Linked DNA regions of Homo sapiens: region 2 is linked to region 1. The links are contacts of gene promoters, found by promoter capture Hi-C in blood cells and fetal thymus (Javierre and others, 2016). All regions are on one chromosome and are shown on one strand. Each heading gives the region's core, a stretch centred on a gene start or on the middle of the fragment in contact. The rest is flanking DNA. Distances are from core to core; before and after follow the strand shown.

Region 1 (5,616 bases), core at 2,132-4,631:
GTCTTGTGTCAACTTTAGAAATGAGGGCATTAAACTATACCATCTGGGGTCACCTCCAGTGCTAACATCCTAAGCGAGGGAGACATGTGCCTTGGGACCTTTACAAATGTATCTGTAAGCAAATCAGGGCAGATGCATTCTGTTTTAAAAAACTATATTTTCTGGCCAGGCGCGGTGGCTCACGCCTGTAGTCCCAGCACTTTGGGAGGCCGAGGCGGGTGGATCATGAGGTCAGGAGATGGAGACCATCCTGGCTAACAAGGTGAAACCCCGTCTCTACTAAAAATACAAAAAATTAGCCGGGCGCGGTGGCGGGCGCCTGTAGTCCCAGCTACTCGGGAGGCTGAGGCAGGAGAATGGCGTGAACCCCGGGAAGCGGAGCTTGCAGTGAGCCGAGATTGCGCCACTGCAGTCCGCAGTCCGGCCTGGGCGACAGAGCGAGACTCCGTCTCAAAAAAAAAAAAAAAAAAACTATATTTTCTGTTCGGCTTCTGACAAATGTTACTCGGCTAAATTCAGGAATAGCTCATAAGACGTTTGCTGCCAGTTAGTTGGCTCAGTTTCTGGAGAGTACCACATTAAGACCCTGGGTTGGATTCTCATATGGGAACTTTCCTCCGTTCAATAGCCTCCTACTATGCCTAACTCCAGCCAGTCATCTTACAAATACAACCCCACAATGTGTGCTGGCGTGCAGGAAGGACTAGAAGAAACTCAGCTTCACAATGCATGCACTCTCAGGACGGTAGGTCAGAAACGGCATCATCACACAGGAATACTATCAATAGCATTCTTTCTCAGTTCCAAGATTCACAAATCCCTCCCTCAAGTCTTGCCATTTCCCGAGGGTTTTAATGTTTCTAAAATGAGGATGCACCTTGGAATCAGCATATATATTTTGATCTGGTAGCATTAGATTATTTTACCTAAAAGCTATTGGTAAATTGCTGGTGTGTCTTAGAATCAAGAATACAGTCCTACAAAACCTCAATACCATTACATAGATTTAGGTCTAACTTGGTTCAAATCATGTCCCTCTCCTTGATCTTAACAATTACATTCAGCAACAGCTGGATAGGCAATGTATAAGACAAGTATTAGTCCTGTTTCCTCATAGTAGCAGTTTAAAAGGCATTCCATCATTATCTCATAAAACACTGGTATGGATTTCAAAGGCAAATTAATCCATATAAAAACTACTCTGATCCTCTGAAAATGTACTATCCCATAGCAAACTGGAAAGGAACATTTTACTTACACCCTCCTGATCTATCTAGCCTTGACACATTTTCTTCCTCCTTAATTCACAACCCTCCACCCCAGTAATATCGCTGATTCCCAAAATACACTCAGCCCAGGAGGAGCAGCTCTCCAGTACAGCTGTCTGCTCCTGCCCTGCTCGGGTATTTTGGTGAGCTATGTGACACAGGACCACACAGAAGGAATGCCACTCTCAGGCCCCACAGTTCCCACTGCACCACAGGCAGGTGCATCCCACCAAACCCCAGTCTGGCATTCGAAACAGAAGAAACTGCCCTGCTGGATGGGGGCTATAGTTTTCCTGAACTTCATCTCTATGTTTAAAACTAGGGCGACAGCCGTCTTGGCTACTGTAAACTAATCTGATGGGCATGGGGGCAGGGAGTGGCTATGAGGAGGCTGCCAATAGGCCATGATTGAGCAAAGTAAAGAGTGAAATAGTTATTTCTCATTGTTTGCAACCCCGGAAACTCCAAATGAGTGGCTCCTTCACCATGATTTTTAGAAATGGACCATGCGTTCCTTTTACCATCTGGAGTAAAAATCCCAAAGCCTCTTGTGCGGTAGATCTGGCTTATATTTACACGTGCTTTCTAAAAGCACACTGAAATTTGGAAGCCAAATAAAAAAGAAGCTGACAATGAGGTCATATAGTAGTTAGGGGCCCTCAAGTTGAGACATGTTTATTAAGAGTTTCTGGCTCTGGGCACTAACTCTGACTTCAACTCAGTTCTTCTGGAAAAAGAAAACTGTTTGGGACCCTCTTCTATTCCAAGAACAGGGACTGCAAGATGGGCAGGTGGAGGGGTAGCAAACATAACCCAGGGAATTGTCCAAATATGCTAGAACCCCTATCTGGTGACAGCCCCACAAAGACACACAGCTGGAGGAGGCACAGTGTACAGGCCTCACACCTACACCATGGAGAAGCTTCGATTTTTCTCCTTCCTCTCAACTCTGCACACGTTATGTTAAAAACTCACTACTATCCAATTAGTTAATTTACAGGAATCCAAGATCAAGTCCTGCCACAGCCCCTTCATATATAAACAGTAAGCACTTCCTATGGATGGTATCAGGCCTTTTTCCAAACCTCACATTATACCAGGGTTGTAGTGCGATTTAAAAAAAAAAAAAAGCATTTTAAAGAGTTCCGCAAGATGCTTATTCACAACACCACACCGGAAGCGCAGGAACTTGGAGCTCCCAAACGCAACCTCTTCTCCCTTCCCTCCACTACTTCTACTCCCCGCTCCGCAACACCGGCCGGGCAGTAGCTCAGCCCACTAGAAGGCCACCAGGCACTAGCCGCGTTCATTAAACGCTAGATGATCACGATGGGGCTGAACCCTTCCCAGCCAAATCTATTCGGAAAGCCCTGCAAGCTCTGAGCAGCCAGTGAGAACTGTCCAGACCTGCTTCCCCAAACCAGCCAGGCAGGAGCGTGTGGGGAAGAAACCCGAGGCCCCCAGGCTGGGCCTGGCCCGATGTTCCCCCTCCCCCAAGTCTCCCCTCGCTCTCCTGTCACTCTTTTTCTGGCACATCACTGGGGAGATCCAGAGAGGCCGGGAGATGTCAGGCCTAGGAGGAGTGAGGAGGAGGGAGAAGGGATAAGGGCGGACGGGAGGTAGTTTGGAGAAAATATCAGCCCAGGGCAGAGGTGCGGTGGCCACGTCTAGTGGGGAAGGAGCCTCAAGGTGGACCCGGAGAGACGGAGGGAAGGGGAGGGGAGGGAAGGGGAGGGGGAGTGGCTGGGGAGGCCGGGCCGCCAAGGCCGGAGGGAACCCGGCGACAGGGATGGAGGGGGTTGACCGGCGCGGGGAAGGCGCGGTCGGGATGCGGGAGTGCGGGTGGGGAGGCAGGGGCGGGGGGAGCCCGGTTCCCCTCCCCCAGCCCGGGCCCTGGCCTCCCGCTGACTCAGCCCCACGGCGTCCGTCGCCTCGGCCCGGACTCACAGTGCACGAGGCGGCTCCGGCGGAGGCGGAGGGGGAGGGGACAGGTGGCGGGGGCGCTGCGGCAGAGGCTGCGGCTCCGGCCGGCGGCTCCGGGGCGGAGGGTCCTCGCTGAGGCCGCCGCGGTCTCCGGCTTCAACGCACAGAGACTGCGGGGGACGAGGGCACTGCGCAGGCGCGATGCGGCCGCCGCTGTCAGTCCGAGCGGGGCGGGGCCAGGGCACCCGCCGTCTCCAAGGCAACTGAGCCGCGGGAGGACAGCCCCTACCTCCACCTTGCCTTAGCGATTGCGGCGGGAGGCGGGGGGCGACAGGAACAGGCCCACTGCGTTGCCGTAGCAACGAGGAGAAGAGACCGCTTCAGACGTGTGCGGCGGTACCGAGGGAACGCGCCTACCTCGTCACCATAGCAACTGGGAACAGCCCCTTCCTTTTTCCCTGGCAACAGGGTAACAATCCCTCCGCCCTGTCTCATCACAGGAGGAACAACCGTGTGCACCTGATTTCAGTAGCTGGATGACGGATTTTCATCTTTTATGGCTACGGAAAAGGAAAAAGAGACGTTTTCTTCTCTTTCAGCGACATGGAAGAGCTAAGGCTGGGTTTTATCTCCTCTCTTGGTGTGTGGGTTCCAATCACAGTCTTTTTCTCTAATTCCCAAATTCATTTTTTTTTCTTTTTTTTTGGGACGGAGTTTCACTCTTGTCGCCCAGGCTAGAGTGCACTGGCGCGATCTTGGCTCACTGCAACCTCTGCCTCCTGGGTTCAAGCAATTCTCCTGCCTCAGCCTCCCGAGTAGCTGGGATTACAGGCGTGCGCCACAATGCCTGGCAAAGTTTTTGTATTATTAGTAGAGACAGGGGTTTCATCATGTCGGCCAGGCTGGTCTCGAACTCCTAACCTCAGGTGATCCACCTGCCTCGGCTTCCCAAAGTGGTGGGATTACAGGCGTGAGACACCGCGCCCGGCCCAATTTTTTTCTACCTGTTTTAAACATCCCCTTTCATCTCCTACCAGAGAGTGTGCCCTTTACCCTTAAATCGAGCTAACGAAATCGTCTATCCACAGACCACTTGAGTTTTTGTCAGCCTTATTGTCTCTCTCCCATTGCAAGGATAAACACCTCATTTCTTCATCTTGCTCACTATCTGGTTTGCAGTCCACTTCCTCATAACTAGCTCCCTCTGACATGTCCATTCGTTTTCCCGAATTTCCTCCTCCAAGCATGCTGTTATGGATCTCCTCGGTTCTTCTGGATCTCCCTTTCCTCTCCACACTTGCTGTCCTTGTCCAGCACTGCTCTGCCCGGGGCTCCAGTATGTTCTTTCCCCCTGTGACTTCAGCATCTTGGTTCTCTTTGTGCTGATGTCTTCTGGCTCTTCCTCCCTCAGCCCTGATTCCCATGGATGCCTTGAGGTCACCTTTGTACCAACCCTGTACATTCCTCCTTTCTTACACACACCTTACACTATCGTCATTTGTTTACGTGTCTGTGTCTCCAGACTATGTGACCCTGGTGGGCAGGAATTCTGTCTTTTTCATCAGCTCCCTCAGCATCCACCACAGCATGTGACACATAGCAGATTCTGAGAAATGCTTATGTAATTGAATCAAATGAAGACAAATCTTTTCCTTCTTCTTTTCTCTGGCCTAACTGCCTCAGAGTCCCAGTCCCCATTTCTAATACCTTTACACATAGTTTGTCTTTTAGTACTATGCTACTATTATAAGTCTTTCATCTCCTTAGCTTTCCATCCTGTTAATTGAGACTCTGGCATTCTCTATTTCCTGAATCCTCGCCTCTAGCTCTTCTCTCTTCTACACTATCCCAAATGTTTCTACTAAGGTAAATTTCCTCACTGGGTACCAACCCCGTGACTCCCATACCCTCCATAATCAGCGTAAGCTCTTCACACCTAACCATCCTGATCATCCCCTAACCAGCTCTAATCAAGCCTTCTTGGTGAACGTTACTGGATTCTGCTGGGCTTGTTGACATGCCAGAGATGCAGCATTCTCTTCAAACAACTCAAAAGCAAGAGCTCACAACCTAGCATTCTCTTCCAAATCTCCCTGTCTAGCTCCCACAGATTCCGCCGCAGGACTATTGGTGCCAAAGCACCCCAACTAAGCCCATTTTCTTGGGGAAAAAAGAAGAAAGTTACAAATAGAGTAAGTAAGAAAAGAGAGGGGACACAGCATATCCTCTCTTCTTCCACCTAAAGCAATTATCAGAAAGGAGAGAGCTCTTTGTAGACAATAATTCCCAAAACAAATCAAGGGGTTAGGAGAGTAAAAACCCAGGCTACACTTTTTTCTAGCCACAGAGTTGGACAACTGGAGCTGTTTCTAACTGCATCTGCAGGGTATCTGGGTGTCACCAAGGCAATAGGGAAGTCGCACGC
Region 2 (5,616 bases), core at 1,917-4,416, 200 kb before region 1:
CTAGGCCTCCCAAAATGCTGGGATTACAGGCGTGAGCCAAAGCGCCCGGCCTTAGGTGTGTTTATACCCTGGATTTAACAGATACAGATATTAACCATTCTGGTGGGTGTGTTGTAGTATCTCAAGATTTCAATTTGCATTTTTCTAATAACTAATGAAGTTGAGCATGTTCAGCCATTTGGATATCCTCTTTAGAAAGTGCCTGACCAAGGCCAGATGAGGTGGCTCCCGCCTGTAATCCCTGCACTTTGGGAGACTGAGGCAGGAGGATCCCTTGAGCCCAGGAGGTCGAGGTTGCAGTGACCTATGATGGTGCCACTGCACTCCAACCTGAGTGACGCAGAGAGACTCTGTCTCTTTAAAAAAACAAAAACAAAAACAAAAAAACTGTGTTTCTAACCCATTTAGCCATTTACTACTGAATTATCAGTCTCTGTCTTATTGCTCTGTGGGGATTTTTAATACATTCTTGATAGAAGCCCTTTTAAATATGTGAGTTATATGGCAAATAGTATCTTCTCCCAGTCTGTGAACTTGTCTTTTTCACTCTCTCAACGGTATCTTGTGATGAATAGGTGCTCCTAACTTTATGTAGTATAATTTCTCACTCTTTTCCTTTAGAGTTAATGCTTTTTGTGTCTTCTCTAAAAAAATATTTCCCTATTCCAAGGACATGAAGGTCTTCTCTTATAATCTATTCTTCTTTTTATATTTTCCATCTCTTTCTCCCTACGAACTGAAATCTGGTTAATTTCTAAAGATCCGTCTTCTGATTTGCTAGATCTATTTCTTTTTCTTTTTCTTTTCTTTTTTTTTTTTGAGACGGAGTCTCCCTCTGTCGCCCAGGCTGGAGTGCAGTGGCATGATCTTGGCTAACTGCAACTTCCGTTTCCTAGGCTCAAGTGATTCTCCTGCCTGAGCCTCCAGAATAGCTGGGACGACAGGCGTGTGCCACTATGCCCGGCTAATTTTTTTGTATTTTTGGTAGAGATGGGGTTTCACTATATTGCCCAGGCTGGGCTCGAATTCCTGACCTCAACTGACCCGCCCTCCTCAGCCTCCCAAAGTGCTGGGATTATAGGCATGAGCCACTGTGCCCAGGCTGCTAGACCTATTTCTAGCAGTTTCTAATCATCCACTGAGTCTCTAATTAAAATATCATATTTTTAATTTCTAGAAATTCTATTTTTTCCCAATTCTGCCTGGTTATTTTTGACAGCCTCTTATTCCTGCATTGTCTTTTCAGAATTCTCTTTCTTTCCTTAAACCTATTAAACATCTTTACTGTATATTCTATGCCTAAACATTACATGATTTGCAATCCTCTCAAGTGTGATTCTAGAGTTCAATGGTACGGCTATTGCTCATTTAGAGTGACATGCCTCCTTCTGACTTTTAAAATTGTTTGTTGTAAGCTCAAGGTTGTTGGAATTGTATCCATGGGAATCCTTCAAAGCATGGATTTATTTATTACTTATTTTTATTGAGTCAAGGTCTCGCTCTATCACCCAGACTGGAGTGCAGTGGCCTGATCATGGGTCACTGCAGTCTCAACCCCCGGGGCTCAAGCAGTCATCCCACCTCAGCCCCCTGGGTAGCTGGGACTACAGGCATGTGCCACCACACCCAGCTAATTTTTGTATTTCTTGTAGAGGTGGGGTTTCACCATGTTGCCCAGGCTGGTCTTAGACTCCTGGGCTCAAGCCATCGGTCTGTTTCAGCCTCCCAAAGTGCTGGAATTACAGGTGTGAGTGGCCGTGCCTGGCCACTGCATGAATTTAAAACGTGTTCCTCCAGAGAAGGTTTGCACCTGCTTGTGCCAGGAAACACTACTAAATCGTGACCACTTTAAAATTTTGGCCTCCCCCACAACAAAACATCCTTACTGAGGGTGTTGCCTTTTGAGGATCCCAACTTTGTGACAGAGTCTCTGATCCAACTTCCCATTTCGAATGGGCCCTAGGTGTTGTCTCCTGTCCCCAGGTGTGGCCCGTAAGACCCAGGCCTTGGGCACCAGGAATTTGCAGATATTGCAAAGGCAGCACTGACTTGAGTGCTGGCTTACCATTTTTTGCTACATGCTTCCTTATTCTTTCTCTTATTCTTTTCCCTTACTTTTCTGCCAGGCAAGCAATACTTTTAAGAATATGTTTTTACGATTTTAGCCATCATTTTGAGTTTCTGTACCAGGAGAGTTTCTCTGAACATCTAGTCTACCATAGTGTCAGAAATGGGTGGAGGCTTGGGCCTTTGTTACAAGCAGGTTTTTAAAGGCAAAAAAGAGGACAAGGAGTGGGCTGATACAAAGTTGTTTGTCAGGAATTCTCATTGGTTTACAGAAATAACATTGATTAATGATTGGCTGTACAGTGTTGAGCTATAGAGTGTGGGTTATAGAGGACCAGAAGTGGCAGGAAATGGAAGAACAAATCTTAGAGGAGCCAATTTGGGGAGGTTTTAAGCTTTCTAAAAAGCCAATTAAGTTTTACATTTTCATCAGCAAAATCATGCCAACCAGAAAGCAGAGGGATCAAACTTTTTTTTTTGTAAGAGGTGTCAATCAACTAAAAAAAATTCCCAGAAACAGAATCCAAAAGAGAAAAAGCAAAGAGCCCCCAGCCTCACATATAGCCTGGGTATTGGCTTGTAAACAGAAAAACCAAACTCTGTGAAATATATTAAAGAAGTTTATTCTGAGCCCATATGAGTGACCATGGCCAGGGGAATAGTCTCAAGAGGTCCTGAGAAAGTGTGCCTGAGGAGTCAGGTTACACTTTGGTTTTACACATTTTAGAGGGACAGGAGTTACAGGCAAAGATATAAATCAATACATAAAAGGTATACATTGGTTTGGCCTGAAAAGTTGGGACATCTTGAAGTGGGAGCTTGCAAGTCATGGGTGGGTTTTAGAAATTCTTTAGTTGATGGTTGAGAGAGTTAAGCTATTGCTTAAAGACTTGAATTCAGTAGAAAAGAATGCTTGTGTTAAGGTAAGAGGGTCAGGGCAGCATGGTGGCTCACACCTGTAATCCCAGCACTTTTGGAGGTTGACATGGGTGGATCATTTGAGGTCAGGAGTTCAAGACCAGCTTCGCCAACACGGTGAAACCCCCTCTCTACTAAAAATACAAAAATTAGCCGGGCCTGGTGGTGCACGCCTGTAATCCCAGCTACTTGGGAGGCTGAGGCACAACAATCCCTTGAACCTGAAAGGTGGAGTTTGCAGTGAGCCAAGATCATGCCGCTGCACTCTAGCTTGGGCAACACAGTGAGACTCTGTCTAAAAACAACAACAACAAAAATGACAAATAAAAAAGGGAGTCACGGGTGCCAAGGCCCTTATTATGGAGATGAAGCCTCACAGGGACCAGCCCTCAGAAAGAATAGATGGTAAATGTCTCTTTTCAGATTTTTTAAAGTGTCAGCCTCTCAGTTAATCTCTCCTAGATCTTGGAAAGGCCTAGAAAGGAAGACCTGGTTGCAGTGGTGGAGATTCTCTACAGATACAAACTTCCCCCACGAAAGACAGCTTTGCAGGACCATTTCAAAGTATGCCAAACAAATACATTTTGGAGTAAAATATTTTTATTTCCTTCAGGGCCTGTAATCTGCCATGTGGTGCTAAGCCACAGTCAGGTTGGAAAGTAAGCCACAGTATACTGCGTTAATTTTAAAAACCCAGTTAATGAGATTTTATGGTTTGTTGGGTATGATTTAACCCTTGCCTTTCATGGCCTCTAGCAGTTTCTAATCATTCATTGAGTCTTTAATTAAAATATCATATTTTTAATTTCTGAAAATTCTATTTTTCCCCCAATTCTGCCTGGTTATTAGATTTGTTGGAAATAAAGCTCAGGAAATAAAGCTTGCAAAGGAAATGAGCACTCAGATAACTTCTCTGCAAGGCAAAATTTTACTTCTATAGAAGGGTGCTACCTGCATGCAAGGCAGAGGCAAGGGAGCACACTGAACAAAGGAGAGCAGGCATTTTTATCCCTAATGCAGACCCTGTTCCTGGGTCCTCCCCCGGTTGGCTGGAGTCAGACCGCACGATCTAAGCTAATCCCGATTGGCTAGTATTGACATCATCGAAGGAGGCAAGGGTGGGCACTTGATGGGAAGGACGGGCACATAGGTGATGGGACATGCTTGGACGTGTTTGGGTGCAACAGAGATAGGGAGGGCTGATAGATGGACAGGTAACATTACTTTCAGAATAGAACAAAGAACCAGGAACTGAAACTTTTGAAGAGAAACTGTTTGTGCCTAACAGATTGTTGTTCAAAATTTGGTATCTTATTGCCACAGATACTCTCTTTTGCCAGTCTTATAATCCCTGTTTTAACCACAATGCTTGTCAGTTGTGCCTAAACACCAAAAGGGAGGAGGGGTATAACAAGACATGTCGGACCTCACTTCCCACTGTAAACCAAAAATAAAAGTCTAAACCCCCAGTCATCTGAATGGACTCCTCCTGTCCCTAAAGGGCATTCCAAAGTTAACCTGAAACACTAGTTCAGGCCATGATGGGAAGGGGGTTCAGACATGCCTCATGATACCCTCCTCCCTTTTGGATTTACTGATAGAACAGACTCTTTAAGTCTGATAAGAACATTTACAATCTATTCTCTCTGAAGCCTGAGACCTGGAGGCTTCACCTGTATCATAAAACCTTGGTCTCTACAACCCCTTATCTTAACCTGGACATTTCTAAGTCTTTAGACAGTAACTTAACTCTTTCAACCAATTGCCAATCAAAAAATCTTTAAATCTACCTAAGACCTAGAAGCCCTCCACCAGCTTCTAGTTGCCCTGCCTTTCTGGACTGAACCAATGTACATCTTACATGTATTGAGTGATGTCTTTTTTTTTTTTTTTTTTTTTTGAGGCAGAGTCTCGCTCTGTCGCCCAGGCTGGAGTGCAGTGGTGCTATCTCGGCTCACTGCAACCTCCACCTCCTGGGTTCACGCCATTCTCCTGCCTCAGCCTCCCGAGTAGCTGGGACTACAGGTGCCCGCCATCATGCCTGGTTAATTTTTGTATTTTTTAGTAGAGACGGGGTTTCACCATGTCAGCCAGGATGGTCTCGATCTCCTGACCTCATGATCCACCCATGTCGGCCTCCCAAAGTGCTGGGATTACAGGTGTGAGCCACCGTGCCCAGCCAAGTGATGTCTTATGTCTCCCTAAAATGTATAAAGCCAAGCTGTGGCCCAACCACCATATTCTGAGGATCTTCTGAGGGCTGTGTCACAGGCCATTGGTCACTCATATTTGGCTCAGAATAAATCTCTTCAAATATTTCACAGGGTTTGACTCTATTCCTCAACACCTTTGTGGCTGGGAATTCAGTTTTTCAGGTTTCTCTGGGGTCCCCTTGGCCAATAGGGGGTCTGTTCAGTCAGTTGGGGGACTTAGGATTTTATTTTTCGTTCACAAACTTCTAGTTAGGCTGACTTCTGACCACAGAGCTCTTGAAACTTTTTTTTCAAATCTATTATTATTAGATTTCATCCAGGATAAAGAGAAAGTAGGTCTCTCATTCAATTTGCATGGTTTTAAAACCAGTTTTTTCCAATAGTGCATGCAAATGAATTATTTTAGGCATTTCAAAGG

Evidence for each region. Contacts are between HindIII fragments. The CHiCAGO score rates a contact against its expected background, and 5 or more counts as called.
Region 2: a contact is called between a fragment that was not itself captured here and the fragment with the promoter of MAPRE3 in region 1, in 2 of 17 cell types (naive B cells and total B cells). The highest score is 6.1, in naive B cells.

Annotation. Positions count from the first base shown.
Region 1 is chr2:26,968,402-26,974,017 of GRCh38, reverse strand. It overlaps MAPRE3 (microtubule associated protein RP/EB family member 3), which reads right to left and starts at 3,381. Exons shown (of 7, transcript NM_012326.4): 1 at 3,216-3,381. RefSeq lists a silencer at 3,167-3,496. The HindIII fragment of the contact is 16,247 bases long and covers 2,193-5,616 here.
Region 2 is chr2:27,164,014-27,169,629 of GRCh38, reverse strand. No RefSeq gene overlaps it. Among named protein-coding and RNA genes, the nearest start is that of TCF23, 18 kb to the right of the region's middle. RefSeq lists an enhancer at 3,929-4,238. The HindIII fragment of the contact is 1,403 bases long and covers 2,465-3,867 here.